2 separate regions of the Homo sapiens genome follow, and region 2 is linked to region 1. The links are contacts of gene promoters, found by promoter capture Hi-C in blood cells and fetal thymus (Javierre and others, 2016). All regions are on one chromosome and are shown on one strand. The core of a region is centred on a gene start or on the middle of the fragment in contact, and the rest is flanking DNA. Distances in the headings are between cores, read along the strand shown. Region 1 holds the start of ETV3 (ETS variant transcription factor 3). Region 2 has its middle 20 kb from the start of ETV3L.

The links. Contacts are between HindIII fragments. The CHiCAGO score rates a contact against its expected background, and 5 or more counts as called.
Region 2: a contact is called between a fragment that was not itself captured here and the fragment with the promoter of ETV3 in region 1, in 4 of 17 cell types (naive CD8 T cells, total CD4 T cells, activated CD4 T cells and 1 more). The highest score is 6.2, in naive CD8 T cells.

Annotation. Positions count from the first base shown.
Region 1 is chr1:157,136,976-157,139,875 of GRCh38, forward strand. ETV3 (ETS variant transcription factor 3) reads right to left here and starts at 1,420. Exons shown (of 5, transcript NM_001145312.3): 1 at 1,341-1,420. RefSeq lists silencers at 1,158-1,347, 1,192-1,527, 1,578-1,947 and an enhancer at 1,879-2,484. The HindIII fragment of the contact is 2,762 bases long and covers 1-2,054 here.
Region 2 is chr1:157,078,454-157,081,353 of GRCh38, forward strand. No RefSeq gene overlaps it. Among named protein-coding and RNA genes, the nearest start is that of ETV3L, 20 kb to the right of the region's middle. The HindIII fragment of the contact is 1,181 bases long and covers 883-2,063 here.

The DNA.
Region 1 (2,900 bases), core at 170-2,669:
TACTCTATTCAAAAAACACACACAAACTCTCAAAAATTTTTTGAGAAAAATTATACATTTTCTCCATTTAACAGGAAGGGGTGAAAAGCAGGCATTTCTGAAGCCCTTCTGGCCAGTGAGTGGAAGGAGTCTTGCTGCGATTTGAATTCATTCCATCCAGATTTACAGTTCCTCAATAAATTTCCTGTTCCTCCCAGCAAGGAGCTTTGTGTTAATCACTTAGCAAAAAGGAGGGAGGGGTGAAACTGCCAGAGGGACATGGAGGGAGGGCAGATCTACCCTCGCTGTTCCCCAGGGTGGATGACAGGCCCTCAGCATCCACATTAGCAGGCATCTGGAGAGAATGCCTAAGTGGCCCCCGCGTAGGGACAAATTCCTTATCTTGGAAATTTCACCTAACCTAGGATTTCTCTAGATCTTTTGAATATTTTTTCTCACCAAACACATTAAGGAGACCAGCAAGTGTCAGTCTACAAAACTACTAGCGGCCGAGGACAAGATAAACACCCCAAAGGAAGGAGCAGACAAGGAAAAACACACACACACACACACACACACACACACACTCTCACACACACACGAGATACATAATAACGAGGCACCGGGGCTGAGGCAGGAGCTTCCTCTTCCACCTTAGTGACAATGAGGGAGGAAAAACACGAATTTCCCCACTGCTCCAGGAAGCTGCCCTGGACTCTTAACTCCTAGGATGCGCTGTCAGATCGCGAGGCCTTTTACCCTGCCACAGAACTCCCTCCAACCATCACGACCCTGGGGTCCAAATCCCGTTGCAACGATAACCTGACAAGGAAACCCTCTCTTGACACTCCAGCTCTCCAATTTTCCCCATAAAAGTCCCTTTCCCAGGAGCCCTGGGGCGCCTCTGCACGCCTTTCGCATATTCACTGCAAGGACACTTCCATCCAAGTAGGGCCACTCGTCTCAACTCTGCAAACCACAGGACCCCTGCCCTTCCTCTGATCGCGACCACTCCCCGAAGAGTGAGGCATGCACAGTCTGGCGCTGCGGGTTTCCCGCAGCAGCTCCGGGTCCTGGCTTCCACAGCCCCCAGAACCTCCTTGCCATTCACCTCCCGGGCCGGGCTTCCCTTAACCGTGGCCTCAGGGCTGCGCGGGGCCACCGCATGAACGCTGCCCTGGGTCCCTGTCGCCCCTCAGACAGACACGGGATCCCACCCTCCCCCGCCCCCCGCACTGGGTGAGGCCCAGCTGGGTGGGTACGCGGCCTGGCGGCCGGCCCCGATTCCAGGGACGCCGTCCCCGCCAGGGTCCCGGATCCAACCCAGACACCCCGGCGGCCGAGGCGAGGCCGGGACTCACCTCTTCCCGGCACGGTCCGTCTTCGGTCCGGTCTCCTCCGCGGCGTCTCCGGCTCCTCCTCATCCACCCCAGCAGGAAGTGACCTCCTCGGCTGCTTTCGTCACTTCCATCCTCAGCAGAGAGGGCGGGGGAGGAGGAGGCGCCCTCCCGCCGGTTCCCAGCCTCACCTCGCCGCACCCAGCAGCGTCTCCCTTTCCTTTCTCCTTTCAGCAGACGCCGACTTCCGCCCGCACTCCTCCCCCTGCGCGCTCCTCCCGGCCCGCATCCCGCGCATCCGCCCCGGCACGGCCCGTGCGTCACGCTGCGGGGGCACGTTACGCACGCTCGTGGCGGGCGGCCGGCCCGGTCCGCTGCTGGGCCAGGGTCCTCCAGACGCCGAGGGGTGACGCGGCGCGAGGGGGTGCTGAGCTGCTATACGCTTCCCCCGCCAGTCCTGCGCCGTGAGGCAGAACGGACTTTGCGGGGCGAGGCGCTGCCCCGGGGTCCCACCTCCCGGGGGAGGGGACCTCGCAGACCCCACAGGAAGGCCCAGGCGCCGGGAAACAGTCTCTCCCACACAACAGAGAGGCGGCCCGTCTTTCTCCAGAAATGGGCCCTGCGACCTCCCAGAGTGGGGATCCCTCACAATGGGAAGACGGGACCCGCAGACTTCAGACGCAATTTCCCTACCCTTTAAGAAAGGGCCCTTTCATATACGTATGAAAGAAACCGCAAAGCTTTCTCTGAAGCACGTCGCTTTGGCATTTCCTCCCTGGGAAGACTGGGGGGCATGACCGCTTCCCCGCTAGTTCCCACCCCACTGCATTTAGTCTTAATTCGTCCCAGTCTAAGCAGCTTGCAAGTCCTCTCCCTAAGTCATTAAAACGCGTGTCCCCTTTTGGTTTTACCTTTTGTTCCTGCTCGGGCAATTTGTCTGTCCAAAGCATGATTTTTTCTTCCTTTAGAGGCTCATTAAGGATAAAGAATCTCAAGCAGTTCAGCTTTATCTGCAGTCCCACCCCTGTAAATCTGAGTGGTGTCCAGGCATAGTTTCACTCCAGAGGCAGAAGAAAGGGAGTAGTGAGGATCAGTAAAGGTTAAAGAATTTAGAATAAATACGAGCGTGGGGGAGGTGAAGAAGAGAGATGGGATTGAAGGAGAATTGAAGATCAATTTTGATCAAATGGATCAAAACTTTGTACCTCTGCTCTAGTAAGACCTTTGCACCGTCTCTGCCACATGGGACTTGGAGATATTAGTTGTTACAAAAATTGCTTCCAGTTTTGAATGTGCTACTAGTCACTGTGTAGCTCTTGATAAATTAATTAGTAAATTGGCTCCCTCTGGCCTAAAATTACCTTACCTGTTTTTTAAAAAAGATAACATTGTTGTGTCTTTTCTAGTTAGAACTTCCTACTCTGTAGGTGAACAAAATAAGGAGCAGAACTTAAACACCATAGAGAGGGTTACCGATACCTGCAACTAGTCCACTAGCTCTTTGTAGGAACTGTCTATATATTCTTTGCATCTTGTGCATGGTACCTAGAACGGCAACTTACATGTAGATATCAGATGTTTGCT
Region 2 (2,900 bases), core at 223-2,722, 58 kb before region 1:
CTAAAAATACAAAAGTTAGCCAGGTGTGGTGGTGGGCGCTTGTAATCCCAGCTACTTGGGAGGTTAAGGCAGGAGAATTGCTTGCAGGAGGCGGAGGTTGCAGTGAGCCGAGATTGCGCCATTGCACTCCAGCCTGGGCGACAAAGCGAGACTCCAACTCAAAAAATAAATAAATAAAAATAAAAATAAATAAATAAATACGTGACATTAAAGTCCATATGTTTAATCATTTCATTAGGGTCTTTTCAGCCATGCCTTGAACTGAGTAGGACTGAATGCAGAATTCCTTAATATAGAAGACCCTTTCTACAGATATCCCTGGGGTGTTAGCACACATTACCTGGCTGCTCTCCAGAAGCAAACCTTAGCATTCGTCCCCTCCAGTTCTGGTTTCTTTGAAACATTTGACAAAGAGGAAGAGAGATGAGAAGTAAGAAGGCCATCATCCTGATGACAGGGTTTGTTTCGAGTTCTCAGAGTCAGCACCCGCTATCTCTGTGTGGAGCCTGCCATTGGGCTGCTATTTGGATTTTGCAGCCTTGAGGTTTCTGTGAGGATGCCAAGGTGGATGAGGAAAGGTCAGCAGACCCAGTGTGCATACTAGACTAATGAGAAAATGATGTGTGGAATTGAAGGGAGATGTTTGAGAATCTGTGGCAGAGCCCCTGGTTGTGTGGGGGTCCCTGAGAAGGTAGGCATGGGGCATGGAAAGGGAGGATAGGAAGTAGGCAGGATCTTGTTGAAGAGGGTGCTATTATAAGGCCCTTTAGGGGAAGGTTCATGTGTGGGACTCTCTGTGTTAGAAGCAGGTGTGAGATCATGTGTCAACATAGCTGTCACTTCCCTTCTTTCAGTCTCCTTTATTCTGTAAAATGATAGTGAAGCTTGATGCTCCCCTGGAGGGTGTGTGTTGGAGAAAGATGCGGATGGAGAAGGGAAGGTATCTTTGTCATTATAATTATTAGTACAGGTATAACACAGTAGCTTCACCACAAAATGTCATTCTTGCTTACACCTTCCAACAACAGTACATGCTTTTACAATATTTACTTTTTTTTTTTTTTTTCAGACAGTGTTGCTTTGTTGCCCAGGCTGGAGTGCAATGGCGTGATCTCGGCTCACTGCAACCTCTGCCTCCCGGGTTGAAGCATTTCTCCCACCTCAGCCTCTCGAATAGCTGGGATTACAGGTACACGCCACCATGCCTGGCTAATTTTTGTATTTTTAGTAGAGATGGGGTTTCAACATGTTGGCCAGGTTGGTCTTGAACTCCTGACCTCAAGTGATCTGCCCATCTTGGCCTCCTAAAGTGCTGAGATTACAGGCGTGAGCCCCCATGCCCTGCCTACAATGTTTACTTGATCTTCCTACTTGATCTTGTGAGGTAATAATGGTGGGCAGGAAATATTTACTTTAAAATTTTTAAATTTTATGTAAGTAATATGGTATTGTAGTTTTAAAATCGTAAGTATAAAATATATGCAGTGAAAAATCTACTTCTCTTCTGTCCTCTATCATCCATTTTCTTCTCCCCAATAGGTAACCTCTATTGTTCTTGTTTATCTTTTCAAACATTTTATTTATTTATGTATTTATTTATGTATGTATGTATTTTTGAGGTGGAGTCTTGCTCTGTCACCTAGGCTGGAGTACAGTGGCATGATCTCAGTTCACTGCAGCCTCTGCCTCCTGGGTTCAAGTGATTCTCCTGCCTCAGCTTCCCAAGTAGCTGAGAGTACAGGCGTGCACCACCACACCTGGCTAATTTTTTAATTTTTTTATTTTTAGTAGAGATGGGGTTTCACTATGTTGGCCGGGCTGGTCTCGAACTTCTGACCTCAAGTGATCCACCCACCTTGGCCTCCCAAAGTGCTGATATTACAGCCGTGAGCCACCGTGCCCGGTCCTTTTCAAGCATTTTAGTACCTAATCAAGTCAACACAAATCTATATATGTATTTTCCCCCTTCTTAAACAAATAGTAAAATCCCACATATACTCTTCTGCTCCCACTTTTTTCTTTTAAGACAAACTTGAGAGGTAATTCCACATCAGTACATAATAAGCTTCTGCTTTCTTTTTGACAGTGCATAGTGTTCCGTTGTATGGATGTACCATTATTTGTTTAATCAGCACACCAAAGGTGGACATTTAGGCGCTTCCGATATTTTTCTTTTGAAATCATGCTGCATCAAATTTCCTTGTGATTTTGCACCTGTACCAGTATATCTGTATCATCTCTGTTTCATAGTTGGGGCAGCTGGGGCTCGAGGTGATGAAATGACATGTCTAAGATCACAGACGGTCATCAAAGCAAGTTCTACAGCCCAGCCACCGTCAGAGTTTCTCTCCAGTACAGCATGGAGCCTGGATTTTAGTTCAGCAGCCCTTGTTGCGTGTTGCCATATGCCAGACCCTATCTAGGCCCTATCTAGAGCTTGATAGGGCCTCGTCCCTGCCCTGGGGCAGCTTACATTCCAGGGTAATTTGCACACGATGCAGTCAGTGCTATGATAAAGCTAGGCACAGAGGAAAGGCAGTTGACCCTGCCTGTGGTGTCAAGATGAGCTTCTGGGCCGGGAAATATTTAGGCCGGGTGTGGTGGCTCACGCTGTAATCCCAGCACTTTGGGAGGCAGAGGTGGGCGGATCATGAGGTCAGGAGATCGAGACCATCCTGGCTAACATGGTGAAACCCCGTCTGTACTAAAAAAAAGTACAAAAACAAAAAAATTAGCTGGGCGTGTTGGCGGGTGCCTGTAGTCCCAGCTACTCAGGAAGCTGAGGCAGGAGGATGGTGTGAACCCGGGAGGCGGAGCTTGCAGTGAGCCGAGATCGCGCCACTGCACTCCAGCCTGGGCGACAGAGCAAGACTCCGTCTAAAAAAAAAAAAAAAAGATGA